Linked DNA regions of Homo sapiens: regions 1 and 2 are each linked to region 3. The links are contacts of gene promoters, found by promoter capture Hi-C in blood cells and fetal thymus (Javierre and others, 2016). All regions are on one chromosome and are shown on one strand. Each heading gives the region's core, a stretch centred on a gene start or on the middle of the fragment in contact. The rest is flanking DNA. Distances are from core to core; before and after follow the strand shown. Region 1 has its middle 190 kb from the start of MAT2B. Region 2 has its middle 170 kb from the start of MAT2B. Region 3 holds the start of LINC03000 (long intergenic non-protein coding RNA 3000).

Region 1 (2,700 bases), core at 99-2,598, 600 kb after region 3:
CTTTGAGGAATTGCCACACTGTTTTTCACAATGGTTGAAGTAATTTATCCTCCCACCAACAGTGTAAAAAGCATTTCTTTCCTTCCACAACCTTGTCGGCATCTGTTGTTTTTTGACTTTTTAATAATAACCATTCTGACTGATGGGAGATGGTATCTCATTGTGGTTTTGATTTGCATTTCTCTAATGATCAGTGATGTTGAGCTTTTCTTCATATAACTGTTGGCTACATGTAGTCTTCTTTTGAAAACTGACTGTTCATGTGGCAACACTTTAAGTTATAGAACACTTTGTTTTGTCTTGTTTTCAGCTATTTATTTAGTGCTGTGGGTATATTACTACTTTAATTACTCAATTTATGACAAAATTTCTTTAAATACTCAGGATTATACCTTTCAAAGATCAATTGCCTTTTAGAGCATCTTGGGCTTTGGAGAAAACAGCTCTATTCATTTATTCAGCCAACCATCTATTATGGAACAAATAGTTATAAAGCCTCTTATTTCTGCAAGGTGCTAAGTGCCCTCTGTACTGGGAATATTGAGGTGAACAAGACAATGATATTCTTTAAAGCTTACCACAAGAAAAAAACTTTGAAAGCCCATTGGAATCATTCAACCATTCCAGAAATATTTATTAAGCACCTATTAGGTGTGGAAACACTGTGCTAGACACTGAGGGATATAGTGAACAAAATAAACAAAATCCCTGCTCATTTAATCCCTCACACTCTAGTGTCCCAAGTGAGCATCAATTCAAAAAAAGTAGATGTATAGCAACTAATGTGAGGTTGTCCTTATAACATAGAAAAGCCAAGTGTCATAAAAATATGAAGGAAAGAATAATTAATTCCAACTTGGATAATGAGATTAGAGGTGAATGTTAAAGAATGGGTAGGATTTCAAGGTACTTTCTAGGAAAGACACTTCAAAAGTTTGAGGGCAGTGGAAGTCCATTATTAGATGTCTATTTTAGGATTTAACTCTAGTAGCAGCCAATAGGAAGTGTCAAAGGGAATAAAGAGTGGGACCACCCAACAGCTGTGGATGCCTTTGATTCAATTTGGGGGAGAAGGAGATTAATCAATCATCAGGGGTGTCAGGTGCCTGTTCCTCAACTTCCTAGAATCTAGATGCTTATCTAGTGCCTTCTGCTTTGGCAAGGGAAAAGAATGAGAGTCACTATAAACAGGTCACCCTTGACATTTCACAGTGGTTGAAATTAACTGCCATGGGATAATAGCATCGAGACTTAAGCTTATAACAAATGTTACTTTCAAATCAGTTATGCAAATACAGCTTTAAGAAGGCTAATATATGTAGATTTATGACTACTTCCTTAAAGGTAATGATTTTTTTAAAACTGCACTAAATTCTGGGAGGAATTTATAATCTAAAATAAAAATAGGAGAAAAGCAAACAATGGACCTCTAAAGCTTTTTATAAACAAAGTAATGCAGTTTGTTCTACTAGAAATAATAATATAAACTCACTCACTTCTTTTCTCACATAGCACATTTTACTGAGCTTTCGCATATATCAGAAGGCAAAAGCAGCCAGCAATCTGGAGCACTGGCACATAGTAGATTTCATCTCATTTTGCATATATAGGGCTTCATGCTATGGAATTAACAACTTTTAGATTGTTCTAGTGCAACCATTGAGCTATTGCATTTGGATATGATGTATATTTTTTAATTTAAATAAATGCATTTAATATCGATTTTTTTCATCCATATTTAGTATGCCATCCAAACTACAAAATACACTGATGATTTTTTTTTAAAGCCCTTCTGGAGCTGAAAAAGTCTTCTATGATGTTATGTGATGTTTCATTTATACTTAGTACAAATTTACCCCTCTAGAATTTCACAGCTTTCTCTAGTCCAATCAATAATTATTGATAGTTTATAATATAAAAAGTTATCCTGCAGATACTAAGCAAGCACTTTACATGGTATGCTTTTTGAGATTCAATAAAGATACAGAATTAATTTATTAGATATGTGGTTACTGAATTAGCAAAGCATTGGTATACAACCAAAATAACAAATTTTATAAGAAGACATATGTACTTCTTGTTAATAAACACATTAAGCATAATCAAAGGTGAATGTGTTCAAGAGAGCCTTTCTCTGGTAGTAAAACCCTGGGTGGCAACTCCCTGGAAAGGCTTTAAGGACCTACTGCAGTGGAAAGAAGTTTTCAAAACAACTCCTCAATGACATGGGGAAAGCAACTTAAGAAGTTATTAGCAATTTTGGCTGGGTGCGGTGGCTCACTCCTGTAATCCCAGCACTTTGGGAGGCCGAGGCGGGCAGATCACCTGAGGTCAGGAGTTCGAGACCAGCCTGGCCAACATGGTGAACCCCATCTCTACTTAAAATACAAAAAATTAGCCGGGCATGGTGGTACGCACCTGCAATCCCAGCTACTCGGGGGGCTGAGGCAGGAGAATCGCTTGAACCTGGGAGGCAGAGGTTGCAGTGAGCCGAGATTGTGCCATTGCACTCCAGACTTGGGGACAAGAGCGAGACTTCGTCTCAAAAAAAAAAAAAAAAGAATTTATTAGGAATTTTTAAAAATGTTCATAATTGATGTTTATGAAATTTCACATAATCTCATTCAGATTACAGATGAGAAAACTAGCAGACAGATATATGAACACATCCACCATATCTTGTGGGTCATTGGTAAGTTT
Region 2 (2,700 bases), core at 164-2,663, 630 kb after region 3:
TATTGATCTAGTATTCTGTGACCTTGCAAAACTCACTTATTAGTTTTAGGAGTTTCTGCTTGGTTTGAGTTGTTGTTGTTTGTAAATGCCTTGGAATTTGGATTTCCTATGTAAATAATTATGTTGTCTGCAAATAGGGATAGTTTGGTTTCTTCTTTTTAATCCATGTCTTTTATTTCTTTTTATTGACTCTGAGACTGGCTAGGCCTTCTAATACAACGTTGAACTGGAGTGGTGAGGTAGGACATCCTTTCCTTGTTCCTGATTTTTAGGGGGAACAAGGCTGTGTGATAATAAATATGATTTGTGATATAGGATTTTTTAAATAGATAATTTTTATTAGCCTAAGGAAATTCTCTTCTATTCTTAGTTTTTTGAGAGTTATTATCATGAATGGATGTTGAATTCAGGAAAAGCAAATACTTTTGTTGCATCATTTGTATGTCCATGTGGGTTTTCTTTAAAGTATTGATTCAGTGGATTATCTTAATTTGTTTTTAAATATTAAACCAGCCTTATCCCCAGGATAAATTTCTCGTAGTCATATTACAGTATTATTCCTATACATTATAGATTCAATTTGATAAAATTTTATGAAGTCTTTTGCATTGATGTTCTATTGTTTTGAAGTTTTCTTTCCTTGTAATGTTTTTGGTGTTTCGTTTGTTTGAGACAGGGTGTCACTCTGTCACCCAGGCTGAAGGGCAGTGGTGCAATCATGGCTCACTGCAGCCTCGACCTCCTTGACTCAAGCAATTCTTCCGCCTCAGCCCCCCACGTAGCTGGGACTACAGGTATATGCCATCACACCCAGCTAATGTTCATATTTTTTGTAGAAACAGGGTTTCACCATGTTGCCCAGGCTGGTCTCGAACTCCTAAGCTCAAGCAATCTGCCCACCTCAGCCTCTCAAAGTGCTAGGATTACAGGCGTCAGCCACCATTCCCGGCCTGTCTGGTTTTTAATATCAGAATAATTCTAGCTTCATAAGATGAATTGGGAAGTATTCCTTCCTCATTTATTTTCTTGATGAAATTGTGCAGAATTTGTGTTTATTCTTGTTTAAATGCTTGCAAGAATTCTCCAGTGAAACCCCCTGGACCTGTAGATTTCTTTTACATAAGGTTTTTAACTGTAAATTTATTTTTTAATAACAATAGGGCTATTTAAGTTACCTATTTCATCTTCAGTGAGTTTTAGTAATTTGTATTTTTCAAGGAATTAGTACATTTTATCTGTTATTGGATTTATGTACCAAGAATGGTTTGTTGAATTTCTTTATTATCTTTTTAATGTCTGCAAAGTCTGTAGTGATATCCATTTATTTATTCCTGATATTGGTAATCTGTGTCTTTTTTTCCATTTTTAGTCAGTTCTTATTAAGCAGTATCTGTGTACTTTTGGCATTTTTCAGGTTTTCTACAATAAACATTTGTTATTTCATAATTAGAAAAATGTTATAATAAAATTTTAAATATCATTTTAATTTTAAACTTGCTTGTTTCTGCATTTAAATTAATTTAAATGTATAATAAATTTTATAACATGAGGCTGATATATGGACTAAAAGTGATAATGCACATAAAAATACTGTGTAATTTATACACATGTTAGCATTATAATTACAGATAAGCAAAGGAAGACAGTTGTATAATTGAAATAGAAAAATATAAGAGTTTTCTAGCAATAAATAAATGGCAACATTTATATTGTGACTTGGGGAATTTAGAAGAACCTAAATTTTAAAACATGTTTTCTGACAACATTTAGAGCAAGATTGCCCACAATTAGACATATGACTTTTATTTATTTAGAAATTGTAATCAGTTCTGGAAATCACTAATTACTAATAAACATTCAAAATCAAAGAATCGTGGAAGGTAGGCGATGATTTCATTATTTCTGAAGCATCCAGTATAGTTCTTAGAAGACCAGTCACTTAAACTGAATCCCATAGTACAGTTAATTCATTCATATTATTTAGGTCCCCAAATTGATTACATGTGGGCTTGGAACATGCTGGTTTACTTGTCCTACCTTTCTTTTTTATTATTATTATTATTATACTTTAAGTTCTAGGGTACATGTGCACAAGGTGCAGGTTTGTTACATATGTATACATGTGCCTACATTTCAAATTTAATCAAAACATAACTACTATAAACCTCTTCTGAAAAGAAATGATCAGATTATATACTTTTAAATTTCATATTTTATATTAACATGGAATTTAGAGGCAGATAGGAAGACAGGAAAAGTGGATTATATTTTCTTTTAAAGTGCTTAACGGTGGGCTAGTGCAACATAAATACTGTTACCATCTCTATCCCACAAAAAGATTTGCTGAATTCCCTCCCTATGAAACCCAGGAACACTCTACCTAGCATTGGGAAGATGCCATGTTATGAAGATCTCCTAAATACTGATCTCTCAGAGCCCCATGAATTGAAGACAGGAAAGAAGCTGGGGAAATGACAAGATGAAAAGGACTCCAACTGTAGGAGAAAGAAGAGCATTAGATGAAGCCAACACATTCAGCTATGATTTATGCAACATCCAAGTACTAACTCTCAAGCCAACAGCATACTTTCAGGCTATATGCAACCACCAAATTACCATAAATTAAGCTCAGGCAAAAATAAGGCCATAAAATGGACATTTTACAGTGGCTATTGACTAGGATGTTCAGTTTCCATTAAA
Region 3 (2,715 bases), core at 206-2,705:
GTCATTGGGACCCTGAATGGGACAGCAGAATCAATCCAAGTTACAAGTGACTAATACTATGAGATGCTCTTATCAAAACAGAGCAGAGGAAAATTGTACAAGCCTCTTGATAATATTACTCCTATATCTCTATAGACATTCAACACATTATTAATATGTTTCTGTGATTACAGTTTTCCCAGCTATATCAACAACTCCGAGTGACCTCACCTGAAAGCTAATTTTATTTTGTAAAAACTGACAAGTGAAGATGGAGACCAGTTATAAAAACAAAGGTAATTTTGTAATTTTTATGTAAAGCAAACTCGAGACTCAATGATATCATACAGCATGTGAATTATCACCATCCTTGCATTTTCTCTTAGTCTTACAAATATTTCACATGTTCATGCTACCTATTGATGATATATGTATGTACACAAGATAACACCTTCTCAGTAAAGGCTAGAACAGCACATCTTTCTGACTGAGTAGATTACACCACATGGTAATGATGTGATCAAACTCCACAAGTTATGTGCCTCATCATTAGTTTCCCCAAACTATGAGGTTTAAAAAAAAAAAAAAAGCCACTAAACATATACACAGCACAGCACTGTAGCAAGAGAATAATTTTGGCTTATCCAAATGATAGTGAATAATTCAGTACATTTAGAAAAAAAAAATATATATATATATTATGAAATGCATCCCAGATCCCAGTTTAAGTTCAAGTTCCCAACTGTGAACTCAGAGCTCATGGAAATACAATTATGTAGATTCCTCTTAGCAAAGATTTAGTAGTGGTTCCTTCATTTAACAGCAGTTTTTTCTTAGTGAAATTATTTACTTGAAGAGAGGCTAATATGAAGGGAAAAAGGCAGTTCAACATAGACCAGGCACAATATAAAAAAAGTATTCATAGTTTAAAGTGTGTTAAAGTGTAATGATGTCACAAATAGACAAATCTTAACTGCGTCTTACCTGTAGTAGCAGAGTGTCTTGATACTGTTGAGTGTCGAAAAGATGCAAGTCTCTAAATTAGAAAACAAGGGGCTGTTTGCGCTCCCAGTTTCAGCACAGCCAGTGTTCTATGCGTAAGTAATAAATTGCCTCGTCAAAGTCGTCCCAGCCACGGTGTTCATAGGCAATAGTTAGAATCACTGCCCGAAGTCTTGCTTGATGCTGCTCCCACAGCCTCTGCCTTTGCACAGAGACCTAATGTAGGAGTGAGCCGGAGAACATCCTCTTCGCCCCCCTCTCTCCCCCTCCCTTTTGCGTGGTCTTTCTTCCTCTGTAGCTCACTCTCTCTCACGAATGGAGAGTTATCCTTTGGTTCATTCGGCAGTCAAAGAGGACAGGCTGGCAGGCAACAGTGCAGCTGCCCCCATGCTGAGGCACATGAATGTGTTGTGAATAAAGACAAAGCCCTGAACCAGTGCAGCACGTTACTCCCTGGAAAAGCGCTGCAATGATACTCTGCACTGCAACTCCTCAGGCAGGCAGGCAGGCAGGCAGGCAGGCAGAGCGGTGGACTGAATTTCCCTCGCTTTCCCTCCTAGGAACGTACATTATAAAGTTTGGCTCAGGACCTTGCTTCTCCTCTAAGGGACCACATTTTCTGTGGGTAAAAAATGTTTTATTAAATGTCTGGACACCCTGAACAAAACTATTTTAGATAGTTTTCTACTCTGCTAAACTTGGAGAACCTACCTCATTCCCAAGCTGTCGCCAAAGTAACTGAATTTTCTAACTTTGGAAGATAAAGATCAGGTATGTTAGGCCCCAGAAAAATGTTTTCATGGTAGGGGAAGATGAATTTCTCTAGTCTCAGTATTCCTGAGGGACTGAGTAGGGAGGGTTGGGGAGAGGTGAGCAAACAAACAAAAAGCATCCATATCTCACAGGTGCCAAAAATAGAAACTGAGATAAACTAAAGTGAAACTGATGAACGAGTCTGAAAGAAGGTAAGTGCAAAGAATTGAACAGAGTGAATTAATGGTACTCACTGGTTTCCTATAGCTATCATTCAGTTTTGATAACAAAAAATCATCCTACTTATATACATCATGTTTTGCTGTGGCTTTTGCAAGTATTAATAGACAAATAAACGTAGGCTAATATATACCACATATTTAAGAAAGATTTAGCAGATAATGGCCTACAGGTATTTGCATAAAGAGAGTCAGAAGTTGTTTTCATGCTAACAAAACTACAGGTGGTTACTAAACTATGGATACAGAACTTTGAGATGCACACTCTCAAATACTGGTCCTAATCAATGTATACTGTAACGATGAGACTTTTAAAGCACAATCATATAATGTAGGCAACAGTATTTGGTAAAATAATTAAGTATAAGTTAGGATGAGACTTTTCCATGAATGCCAAAACACCTGAAGTAAATAGTTGCTAGACTAAAATATAACTTTATTTCTATCCCTGATGAAAATGAAGTCTGCAGCTAAGTGTTCCAGGGCTAGATATGAGCTCCATGATATCAGGAACTAGGCTCCTTGTTGCTCCACCATTAGCAACACACTCCAAGATAGTATCTCAAGCTTTAGCCACTAAATTGGTATTCAAACTTCAGGAGCTGAGAAGAATGAGGACAATATGTTCCCTATTTAAGGACATACCTTGGAAGTTGAACATGACATGTTTTTGACTAGAAATTAACCATATGGCCAGAGCTTACTGCAAATGAGACTGGAAGACTGGAAAATAGAGTGTCTA

What was found. The method cuts DNA at HindIII sites, captures the fragments that hold promoters and counts their contacts. A CHiCAGO score of 5 or more calls a contact.
Region 1: a fragment that was not itself captured here is called in contact with the fragment with the promoter of LINC03000 in region 3 in 2 of 17 cell types (naive B cells and total B cells); the score reaches 5.9 in naive B cells.
Region 2: a fragment that was not itself captured here is called in contact with the fragment with the promoter of LINC03000 in region 3 in 1 of 17 cell types (naive B cells); the score reaches 5.7 in naive B cells.

The regions. Positions count from the first base shown.
Region 1 is chr5:163,691,150-163,693,849 of GRCh38, reverse strand. No RefSeq gene overlaps it. Among named protein-coding and RNA genes, the nearest start is that of MAT2B, 190 kb to the right of the region's middle. The HindIII fragment of the contact is 179 bases long and covers 1,259-1,437 here.
Region 2 is chr5:163,670,091-163,672,790 of GRCh38, reverse strand. No RefSeq gene overlaps it. Among named protein-coding and RNA genes, the nearest start is that of MAT2B, 170 kb to the right of the region's middle. The HindIII fragment of the contact is 5,335 bases long and covers 1-2,700 here.
Region 3 is chr5:164,295,445-164,298,159 of GRCh38, reverse strand. It overlaps LINC03000 (long intergenic non-protein coding RNA 3000), which reads right to left and starts at 1,455. Exons shown (of 5, transcript XR_001742489.2): 1 at 964-1,455. The HindIII fragment of the contact is 4,689 bases long and covers 1-2,542 here.